Linked DNA regions of Homo sapiens: all the other regions are linked to region 4. Evidence: promoter capture Hi-C in 16 types of primary human blood cells and fetal thymus (Javierre and others, 2016). All regions are on one chromosome and are shown on one strand. Each heading gives the region's core, a stretch centred on a gene start or on the middle of the fragment in contact. The rest is flanking DNA. Distances are from core to core; before and after follow the strand shown.

The links. Contacts are between HindIII fragments. The CHiCAGO score rates a contact against its expected background, and 5 or more counts as called.
Region 1: a fragment that was not itself captured here is called in contact with the fragment with the promoter of CAPN11 in region 4 in 1 of 17 cell types (monocytes); the score reaches 5.2 in monocytes.
Region 2: a contact is called between a fragment that was not itself captured here and the fragment with the promoter of CAPN11 in region 4, in 11 of 17 cell types (total CD4 T cells, naive CD8 T cells, activated CD4 T cells and 8 more). The highest score is 11.2, in total CD4 T cells.
Region 3: a contact is called between a fragment that was not itself captured here and the fragment with the promoter of CAPN11 in region 4, in 11 of 17 cell types (naive CD4 T cells, naive B cells, naive CD8 T cells and 8 more). The highest score is 10.6, in naive CD4 T cells.

What each region holds. Positions count from the first base shown.
Region 1 is chr6:43,836,226-43,838,925 of GRCh38, forward strand. All of the region lies in intron 1 of LOC105375070 (a long non-coding RNA gene), which reads left to right. It overlaps LOC105375069 (a long non-coding RNA gene), which reads right to left and starts at 2,574. Exons shown (of 3, transcript XR_001744130.1): 1 at 2,429-2,574; 2 at 1,659-2,187; 3 at 707-786. The HindIII fragment of the contact is 1,539 bases long and covers 526-2,064 here.
Region 2 is chr6:43,731,997-43,734,696 of GRCh38, forward strand. No RefSeq gene overlaps it. Among named protein-coding and RNA genes, the nearest start is that of VEGFA, 37 kb to the right of the region's middle. RefSeq lists a silencer at 1,616-1,910 and an enhancer at 2,014-2,203. The HindIII fragment of the contact is 1,242 bases long and covers 672-1,913 here.
Region 3 is chr6:43,774,953-43,777,652 of GRCh38, forward strand. It overlaps VEGFA (vascular endothelial growth factor A), which reads left to right. Exons shown (of 8, transcript NM_003376.6): 3 at 2,517-2,700. Among named protein-coding and RNA genes, the nearest start is that of VEGFA, 6.1 kb to the left of the region's middle. RefSeq lists an enhancer at 1-94. The HindIII fragment of the contact is 1,590 bases long and covers 569-2,158 here.
Region 4 is chr6:44,157,434-44,160,133 of GRCh38, forward strand. CAPN11 (calpain 11) reads left to right here and starts at 1,387. Exons shown (of 23, transcript NM_007058.4): 1 at 1,387-1,431. The coding sequence starts at 1,416. It overlaps LOC107986599 (a long non-coding RNA gene), which reads right to left and starts at 1,170. Exons shown (of 3, transcript XR_002956350.2): 1 at 1,152-1,170. RefSeq lists an enhancer at 2,564-2,700. The HindIII fragment of the contact is 9,288 bases long and covers 1-2,700 here.

The DNA of each region.
Region 1 (2,700 bases), core at 45-2,544, 320 kb before region 4:
GAGAGAAGATGCTAAGCTGAGTGACTTTGCTCTCTTGGGCCTGGTGACACCTACTGAAGGGGTCCGTAAGCCTGGGCTATGTGGGACCCTGGGGGCCCTGTAGGCTTCCTTGGGAGGAAGGCCTTGAGGGGATCCTGGAGAGTGGGGAGGAGGAAGGGCATTCCAGGCCTGGGGAACTGCAGGAGCAAGGAGGTGTGTGTGTGTGTGTGTGTGTGAAAGAGAGAGATCGGAGCAGGAAAGGGCGAGCCTTACAAGAAAGAGAAACTTTGGGGAAGCCTTTAGATCTGACCTGATAGTTCGTAGAGACATATTGAAACCCTGTCTGGCACACAGGCCCCACGTGCTTATTATCATTAGTAATTATGACACGACACAGAGGTATTCCCTGGTTTGGTGACTGGGTAGCCTGAGCCCTCCATATTCTGGCCAGTGCTGAACATGGCTGGCATTAGGGATAGCTTGTGGTCTCAATTAGGGGCCAGCAGTGGCCAGGGTTAGGGGTCAAGTGGTAGCCAGGGTAAAGCAAGCTTGTAGTCAAGATAAAGGGTCAGCTGTGGTTATGACTGGCTGTTGATAAGTGGTTGGGGCTAGAGGTCAGATACTGACAATGAACAGTTTTCTATGTATGATGCTAACTGCTCTGGAAGCAGCTCACCTTATCTCGGAGGCATAATGAAGAGGCAGGAGCATTTGTCTGAGAACTAAGAAGACTTGGGTGTTAGCCCTTGTTCTACTCACTTATTCGCTGGGTGAGTTGCTTCACTTCTTTGAACGTCAGTCTTCCCTCTGCGGGAAAGTAACAATGCATGCCCTCCTGCCTTACAGTATGTGAGGTATTTGTTTCTGGGTATCCTATTATTAAATGTGATTAAATAATCATTAATAGCAACACAGCCTTTCCAATCTCACCCTGCCAGGCCTGTAGGTAAACCCTCAGTGTTGGCTGAGGGTAGGTTGGGGGAGTGGTTAAATAATGGTCCACAGACTTGGCCACTCATTGGAATTACCTGGACATTTACAAGAGCATACTGATGCCTGACTTACTCCAACCCTCCTGCATTCTGAATTAATTTATATGGGGTGACCAGGGCATCAGATGTTTTTTTAGACAAGGTCTCAGTCTGTCCCCCAGGCTGGAGTGCAGTGGCACGATCACGGCTCACTACAGGCTCGACCTCTTGGGTTCAATTCTCCCACCTTAGCCTCCCAAGTAGCACCAAGGACTATAGGTGCATGCCACTATACCCGGCTAATTTTTAAATTTTTAATAGAGACAAGGTCTCACTCTATTGCCTAGGCTGGTTTTAAACTCCTGAGCTCAAGCCATCTTCCCGTCTTGGCCTCCCAAAGTGCTGAGATTACAGGTGTGAGCCACTGTGCCCAGCCATGCATCAGAATTTTTGAAAGTTCCCCAGGTGATTCTAATGGGCAGCCAAGTTTGAAAACCACTGGGTAAAAGCCAGTACAAATGAACTAAAGAGAATGAGTCTTTAAGCAGCAACCTGAGCTGTAGATAAACCAACCAGCTGAATCCATGCCGCATTTCTGTGGGGAGCTGAGATGGGACAGCAGCAAGAGGCTTGGGGAGAACTTTCTCACTTAACCCTCTCCATACCTCTGTGTCTTCATTTGTCAAATGGGGTTATCTTTATACTTACCTCACAAAGGTTGTACTTTATAATAATCAGCCCCAGCCAGCCAAGAGATGTTGACTGAATATTGGGGACTGGAGTGGAGAAAGCAAGGTCCCTGGAACTTCCCTTCAGCGCTGCCTTACCCGAACTTTTTGAGGATAGTCTGAAGCCTGGGGATGGACAACATGACCTTGATGAACCTGGAATCTCCTGGCCCTGAAGAGGATCTTTGGCATATATGTCCCCTGTTTCAAACATCGTCCCCCTCAAATGCACTCACATTCATTTCATCACGTCTTTCATTTTTTTGTTCATTTCAGAAAATACCATCCCCATACTAACCTGTAGGACAGGTGGGGGATGGGGAGATGGAGTTCCATCACCTCTGGCTCTTTCCAGGGTTGGGATGGGATGTTATGGAGCCCCTGGAAGCTTCAGCTGAGGGTTGGGGGCAGCTCCTGGCCAGGTTTCCAGTGTCTTGGTCCTCCGGGGAAAATGAAGTTTTCTTTTGTGGTCTGTGTGTCTTTAAGACTTGAAGGCTGTGGGGACCTGACTGGGGAAAATTCCAACCAGTGGGTTCCTTTGAAATGGAAGTGACATCTAGTGGTCTGAAAAAGAACTGCCAAGTTGACCCCCCCCAGCCCCAGGCTGCCCCTGGGGTCCCTTCCCTGGCCCCAGGTCACTTTCCTGCTGGGCCACAACCCTGCTTGAGGGCAGTCTAAGTCCTGACAGTGGGCTTTTGGTGGCAGGGTGACTCTCTTGGCCCTGCCCAGGCTGGAACCCAGGCCAGGTACCTGCACTCAGGTCCAGACACAGAGAGGCCAGGCCCAGGGCAGCCAGAAGAGGCCCAAATATGCCAGGGCTGCAACATCGCGTCCCCAGGTGAGGTGGAATCCTTGGGTCTCGTGTCTGTTGATTCTGAGGAGCCCTGTCCTGAGTCTTCCACAGAAGTCAGAGTGCTGTGCAGGCCTCAGTGCTGAATCATCCTGTGGCCAGGCTGCTGTTATGCAATGATCCCGCCGTGGGTCCACTGGTGTCAGCGGCTGGCCTTCAGCCTCCCCTTCAG
Region 2 (2,700 bases), core at 43-2,542, 430 kb before region 4:
CAACCAATTAGATGACTTAGATGAAATGGACAAATTCCTGGAAACACAAACTATCAAAACCAACTTAAAAGGAAATAGAAAACTTGAATAGAGATATAACAAGTGAAGAGATTGAATCAGCAATCAAAAACCTCCCAACAAATAAGAGTCCAGGACTAGATATCTTCACTGGTGAATTCTACCTAACATGTAAAGAAAAATTGACACCAATCCTTCTCAAACTCTTCCAAAACATTGAAGAGGAGAGAACCTTTCCAACTCATTCTGTGATGCCAACGTTACCCTGATACCAAGCCAAAGACACTACAAGAAAACTATAGGCCAACATACCTTAAGCATAGAGATGCAAACATCCTCAACAAAAAACTGGCAAACCAAATTTAGCAGCATATTAAAAGGATTACACACCATGACCAAGTGGGATTTATCCCCATAATGTAAGGATGGTTTAACATACAAAAATCAGTCAATATAATGTACTACATTAATAGAATGAAGGAAAAAAGAGCCATACACAATTGTTTCAGTTGATGCAGAAAAAGCATTTGAGAAAATACAAAAATTTCTTGATTAAAAACACTTAATAAACTAGGAATAGAACTTCCTTAACATGAAAAAGTTGTATATGAAAAACCCACAGCTAACATCATATTCAATGGCAAAAGATTGAAAGCTTTCCCCCTACAATCAGGACAAGATAAGAATGGCTGCTTTTGTCACTTCTATTCAACACAGTAATGGAAGTTCTAGCCAGAGCAATTAGGCAAGAAATAAAAGGCACCCAGATTGGAAAGAAAGAAATAAAATGATCTCTGTTTGCAGATGATATGGATAAAATACCAAAATTTAAGAGCTAAAACTGTAAAACTCTTAAAAAAAAAGTGAGCCAGGTGTGGTGGTTCATGCCTGTCACCCCAGCATTTTGGGAGGCTGAGGTGGGAGGACTGCTTGAGCCCAGAGTTTGAGACTAGCCTGGGCAGTATAGTGGGACCTCATCTCTACAAATGAAACCAAACAGGGGAAAATCTTCAAGGCCTTGGATTTGGCAATGGTTTCTTTAGTATGACACCAAAAACACAGGCAACAAAGGAAAAATATAGATAAATTGGACTTCATCAAAATTAAAAACTGCCACTAAATTGTACACTTAAAATAGTTAAAATGGTGACTATTTATGTTATACATATTTTACCATAATAAAAAAAGTGAAAAAGAAAATAAAACAACCTAAACTAGGAAACACCCCATAACCTCCCAAATCCAATTTAAATGTTTATTGTCCTAGAAGACTCTCCTGGTTCTCCTTTTCCCCTTCAACACCTGTCCACTGTGCCCCTCCTCCAGGGACTCATTGTACCTCATACATCTCTTTTTGAAACTCTTCCTGCTTGTAAGGTCATTATTTGTTTACAGGTTGGTTACAAGTTGGCTCTGTCCCCCTATCCCATGATAACCCCCTCCAGGCAGTGTAGTCTGGGTTCACATTTCCACTCTCCCTAAGGTTAAGTTCCTTAACCACTCTGGGCTGCTATATCCTCATCCATAAAATAGGGGAGATGATGGCACCTACCTCGTAGGGCTGTGGTGAGGAGTCAGCAAGGTCATGCACTAAACTTCTTACTTAGAAGGATGCCTGCTACATTCAACCAATGTTTGCTATTATTATATGGGCCTGGCAAAAGGCAAATGGCTAGACAGGTTGTAAAATGAATGCTCAGTGACACTCCCTGCTCTCCTCCCTGCCATCCTTGGGGCTGTACATGTATATTTGAATGTCCAACACGGGGAGAGGAGGGAGCAAGGCCTTTGCACCTCTTCCCTGGCCCTGCCCTCTGATCCTGGCTCAATCCCCCTCCCTCCACACTTCGAATTGGCCCGGGTCCCTGCTGGGCTGGAGTGGGAAAGATTAGACAAGCTTCCCTCCACCCTGTCCTTGGGGTGTTGTCCCCAGTGGCAGGAGAAGCCCCACTCTTCTCCCTTCTCTCTGGCTTTTGCCTGTCTCCAAAGTGGGCCTTTGGGAGTGCCCAAGTTGGGGAGGATGGGAAGAACTCGGATTTGGGGGTTAGAGTCAGTCACTATCACATCAATCAGGGCCCTTTCATCAGCCGGAAACTGCTACATCCGGCTGCCCCAACAAGTTCAGACGGGGGTTCCCTGCCCTTCCCCAGCTTACCCTTCTTGCCCCCCTTCCCCAGCTGACAGTCACTCTCACCCTTCCCCGGATGTAAGGGACAGGCTGGGGCAAGCCAGGGACACACTCAGTTTCCCTTCCCTGCTGCCCCTCCCTGGCGTGACATTTACCTCTTCCCCCTCCTCCTCTCCCCACCCCTCCCCCTGCCCCAGCCCATCTGCCATAAGTCCCCAGGACCTGGCTAAGGCAGGGGCCTGGAGGTGAAATCAGGAGTCCACCTGCGGCTGACTGATTGGGCCTGAGCTCCTCGGGCAAGGTGCTTCAGTTAGAACCCTGGGACAGCAAGCCTGGGGGGAGGCCCGGAGCACACAGAGGGAAAGGGACCAGCCCAGGGCCATAGAGTGCTGAGCCAGGACCAGAACCCAGAGCTCTGGGTGCCTCCTTTTCTTTCCTTTATCCCCACAGCCTCAGTTTCCCTCTCTGTCTACTGTCTGGTAGGTCTCTACACTTCCTTAGAGCTCTGATATTATGGGCCTGCTTGGAGCCTCTCTCTCCTCTCCCACTCCCAG
Region 3 (2,700 bases), core at 114-2,613, 380 kb before region 4:
AGGCGCCCCGCCCCCCTGCCCAACCCCGAGTCCGCCTGCCTTTTGTTCCGTTGTGGTTTGGATCCTCCCATTTCTCTGGGGACACCCTGGCTCTCCCCACCACTGACTGTGGCCTGTGCTCTCCACCTCTGGGGAGGGAAGGCCCTGGGGTCTTCCTTCCCGCGAGTTTCCCTGACCTAAATCTGGCGTGGCTGGGTAGTGGCCAGCAGTGGTGATGCCCAGCCTGTTCTGCCTCCTCCTTCCCCACCCCAGGAGCCCTTTCCTTGGCCTAGGACCTGGCTTCTCAGCCACTGACCGGCCCCCTGCTTCCAGTGCGCCACTTACCCCTTCCAGCTTCCCAGTGGTCTCTGGTCTGGGAGAGGCAGGACAAAGGTCTTTGTTTGCTGGAGAAAAGGTTGTCTGCGATAAATAAGGAAAACCACGAAAGCCTGGTTGTTGGAGTGTACGTGTGTGCTCCCCCAGGCAGTGGAGGCCAGCCCTCCTTGGAGGGGCGGCTGCCTGATGAAGGATGCGGGTGAGGTTCCCCGCCTCCACCTCCCATGGGACTTGGGGATTCATTCCAAGGGGAAGCTTTTTGGGGGAATTCCTACCCCAGGTCTTTTTACCCTCAGTTACCAACCCCTTGCCCAGGCCAGACCTTCCTGCTATCCCCTCCTGGGCCACAAGCCTGGCCCTCCTCTGTCCCAATTGTGATGAAGGGGCAGTTCAAAACTTCTTGATTAGTCATCTTCTCCCCTATCGACTTGGCTTTAAAAAATGACCTTTTCAGACTTCTAGTCTCGTTCACTCTTTTTGATGATGCTTTGCCGTAACCCTTCGTGGGTAGAGAAGGATTCTGTGCCCATTGGTGGTCTGGATAAAAGAAATAGAGACCTCACAGGAAGCAGTGGACTGGCCTGTTTCCCCACTGTTCTTTCTGTTTTCACACCTGTGGCCTTCTCCCCACCTTCTTCCCAATCAACCTATTGTGTACATAGCCCCCCTCATTGTCCTTTATTCTTCTGGAAAGCAGACCTTGGAGGGAGGAGTGAGGGGGAGGCTCAGCTGTGGTCTCTGGGGGGTGGGGGTTGGGAGCTGGGGTGGAAGTCCACGAAGCATACACTTAAGATGCTTTGGTGAAGTTCTAAACTTCATATTACCCAGGCTGAAAAAAGAGCACTTGTTCCTAGGGCTGGAAATGGAAGCCAAAACACCACCTTTTTCAGCCTGTTTCAGCATCTTTAGAGATCAGCCCAACCCACTTACACAGTTGAGCAGAGTTGGAGGCCTAGAGAGGGGAGGGACTGGCCCAAGGTCATACCAACTCATGGCCAGAGCCTGGGCCTCCTCACTGGCCAGGTGTTATTTCTTCCCTCTGGGTAGGGAACCTATTTCAGGGACAGGATTGCTATGTGGTAGTGGTGGTGGGGTGCGATAGGCGTGGCAGGCTGGGCCACAATTTGGAGTAGTCATGCCAGAGTCCTGCATTTATTTATTCTCAAGGGCCCCGCCTCTGTGGCCCAGAATTACCCCTTCATGCTCCAGTGCACCCCAGGCTTCGTGGCCAGCCTGGGAAACTGTCTCTACCCTGGTCTCCCTTCAGATCAGCTTCTAGAAATGTTTCGTGGCTACAGTGGCAGCACTGTTTTTTCCATGATGCAAGCAGTTTGCCCTCTTGGGCGGGGTTATCAGTGGCTGGCAGGGCTGGCACAGCGTGTCCGCCCACTGCCACCTGTGGGTTCCAGGAGGGCCCAGCCCCTGTGCTGATGCCCACCACCTTCTCAGCTCATGTCTGGGGAAGAGGACTGGCAGGGGGAAAGGTGCCTCCTCCTGAAAGGTGCCTCCTCTGTTTTTGCCTAATATAGGCTTGGGAACACTTTGATGTCAGCTAATTCTGACTCCTTTACTTACTAGCTGTGCGGCCTTGGGGCAACTTACTTAGCCTCTTTGAGCCTCCTGTTCCCCATCTGTAAAATGGAATCTCAATAGTGTCTAATAGTACCATGTGGAGAAACTTGTGTGAAATGATAGCTGTGGACTACTGTACACAGTACTCAGGATGTAGTAAGTGCTCAATAAACAGCTGTTGGTATGGTTGACGTTATGGTAGTGGTTGTGGGGAGGACGTAGGAAACTGGAGACTAGCTTGGCAAAGCTGGCTCTTCCTCCTTTTAGGGAAAGCTTAGAGCATCCCCATGGGGTATACCCATACTCAGACTGTCCTCTGGCATCGAGGTTGGCCCAGGATTCAGTTCAGCTGTCACAGTGAGGTGGCGGGATCAGATGTGGCAGGCCATGTCCCTTGGAACTTGAGTACATCGTGTGATCTCTGGAATGAAAACAGGCCTTCACCAGTGTTGATGGTGGAAAGCTTAGGGAAGTGCTTCAAACACAGTAGGAGGGACTTACGTTAGATTTTGGAAGGACTTGCCTGATTCGGAAGCTCCAAAGAGTGGCATTACAGAGCTGGGTGGAGAGAGGGGCTAGCCATCTTTTGTGTCGCCCACCGGGCTCATGTGTCATCGCCTCTCATGCAGTGGTGAAGTTCATGGATGTCTATCAGCGCAGCTACTGCCATCCAATCGAGACCCTGGTGGACATCTTCCAGGAGTACCCTGATGAGATCGAGTACATCTTCAAGCCATCCTGTGTGCCCCTGATGCGATGCGGGGGCTGCTGCAATGACGAGGGCCTGGAGTGTGTGCCCACTGAGGAGTCCAA
Region 4 (2,700 bases), core at 137-2,636:
CGCTTTGGGAGGCCGAAGCGAGTGATCACCTGAGGTCAGGAGTTCGAGACCAGCCTGCCCAACATGGCGAAACCCCGTCTCTACTAAAAATACAAAAATTAGCTGGGCATGGTGGTGGGCACCTGTAATCCCAGCTACTTGAGAGGCTGAGGCAGGAGAATCGCTTGAACCCGGGGGGCAGAGGTTGCAGTGAGCTGAGATTGCACCACTTCACTCCAGCCTGGGCAAAAGAGCGAGACTCCATCTCAAAAAAAAAAAAAAAAAAAAAAATCTGAAGTTATTAGTTTAAATCCTGGCTCGACCGCTTAACAGCTGTGTGACCCTGGGCAAGTTGCATCATACCTCTAGACCTCACTTTCCTCATCTATAAAATGGGAATAGCAATGTCATGGCCTCTGGCTGTTTTAAGGATTAAATAAGTAGGAAGTTCTTAGCCCAGTGTTTGGCACATAATAACAAACCATAATTAATATTCTCGTAGATGAGGAGATTGAGTCCCAGAAAGGAGAAAGGGGGAGGGCTCGCCCAAGGTCAGCTCCTGTTTCAGAGCTTGGAACAAGGTTCTCTGATCCCATTGGGTGCTCTCACACCTGTTCTGTGCCTGATTAGCACCAGGCAGGGCTGAGGGGCACTGGGATGACCTTGACAGTCCCTGTCCTCAGCCATCATACACTCCAGAGAAGACTGCACTCTGGAGCAGAGTTCTTAGCTCAAAGCATTCCCACTTTCCAGTGCAGAGGCAGGACATGTGGTCAGACCAGTGGCCTAACCTTGCCAGACTGGGGCTAGGCAAGGAGAGTGTTGCAGGTGGAATCGTGTCCCCCAAAAAGGCATGTTGAAGTCCTGGCCCCCAGTACTTCAGAATGTGACCTCATTTGGAAACAGGGTGGTTGCAGATGTAATTCGTTCAATTAAGATGAGGTCATACTGAAATGCATGGGACCCTAGCCCCATATGACTGGTGTCCTTATAAGAAGAAGAGACACAGAGGAGGGTGCCATGTGAAGACAGCAACACAGGAAAAATGCCATGTCAGTGAGAAAGGGGCTTTTGGGAATGAGAAGGCTTTCTGGATGTAAAGGTCAGGTTGGTGTGTCAGGGACAACCCCTTCCTGGAAACCTTGGGCTGAAAAAAAGGGACTGGGACCTACCCTGATGGGATGACCGTGATACAGTGAGGACAGCCAGGCTGGTGGAGGCTGTGCAAGGCAGGGGTGCTGGGTCATCTGTCCCTAAAGCGGGTAGCCCTCAGCTGGGTAAGGGGCTGGGTTACTGAGAAGGAGAAAAGGGAAGGCAGCTGTTAAACCGGCTGCTGACCTAGGAATCCCACTGCAATGAGAGAGTTCTGGGGGGAGGGTCTCTTCTCCCCCTCCCACCAGAACCTTCAACTGTCAAGCACCGAGCTAGCCACCAGCATGCTGTACTCCCCAGGTAGGCACTCATGGGGCCTTGCCCCACTCCTGTACCTCCTGCAGGCTAGAGCCTCCCCCCAGGGGAGGAGCTGTGTCCCGCATCAGACTGGGTGCCCCTTGAGGGTACAGAGAGTGACTCTTCCATCAGACTGGATGCCCCTTGAGGGTACAGAGAGTGACTCTTCCATCAGACTGGATGCTCCCTAAGGACAGGACCTGGGCCTCGTTCTCAGACTGTTTGGGGAAGGATAGGCCACTGGTGGTCAGACTGGGTGGTAGGCCGGGCAGGAACTCTTTCTCCTCTCCACTGACAGTTGGAGTTGGGGAGAGGAGAGGGGCCGGCCATCCCACTGTCATGGCTGCTGGGGAAAAGGGTTTGTGTGAAAAAGCCCACGTAGAGAAGAAAACTTTAGGGAACAGAGAGAACCTCTCCTAAGCCTAGAAAAGCAGGTCCCTCAGCCCAGGAAGATGAGATCCTCAGGGTGGCAGGGGCAGGACTACCTGAGGCAAGCCTGGGACCAGACTCCAGGAGATGGGGGAGAGTGGGCTGGGGGGAAGGGGAGGGCTGGGCAGAACTGAGTTGTTCCTGTGGGGCTAGGGTGCACAGAGGGCAGCCAGCCTTGGCCAGCAGAAGGTCAGCCCTGTACCTCACCCTCAGCCTGGGGCACCGTGAGACCATGGGCCCCTAGACCCAGCCTCCCAGCTTCTCAGGCCCTCCCTGTTTACCTGACCCTAGGAAGTTTAGGCCTAGCTGGTGACCCCAAACCCAGTCCTTGTTCTTCAGAAGTGCCCTGAGCCCAGGAGTTCAAGACCAGCCTGGTCAGCATAGCAAGACCTCATCTCAAAATATAATTTATTTATTTATTATTATTACTTATTAGTATTTATTTTTTTTTAAAGTTCCCTGACACAACATCTTAGTTTTTTCCCAGTGCCGGAAATCAAACTGTCCTTAAATCTATAGTCCCCTAATAACAATGTATTGCATTTAGAAAATCACTGAGAGAGGCCAGGCACAGTGGTTCACGCCTGTAATCCTAGCACTCTGGGAGGCCAAGGCAGGTGGATCATCTGAGGTCAGGAGTTCGAGACCAGCCTGGCCAACATAGTGAAACCGTGTCTCTACTAAAATACAAAAATTAGCCATGCGTGGTGGCGGGCGCCTGTAATCCCAGCTACTCGGGAGGCTGAGGCAGGAGAATCTCTTGAACCCAGCAAGTGGAGGTTGCAGTGAGCCGAGATCGTGCCACCGCACCCCAAGCCTGGGCGACACAGCGAGACTCCATCT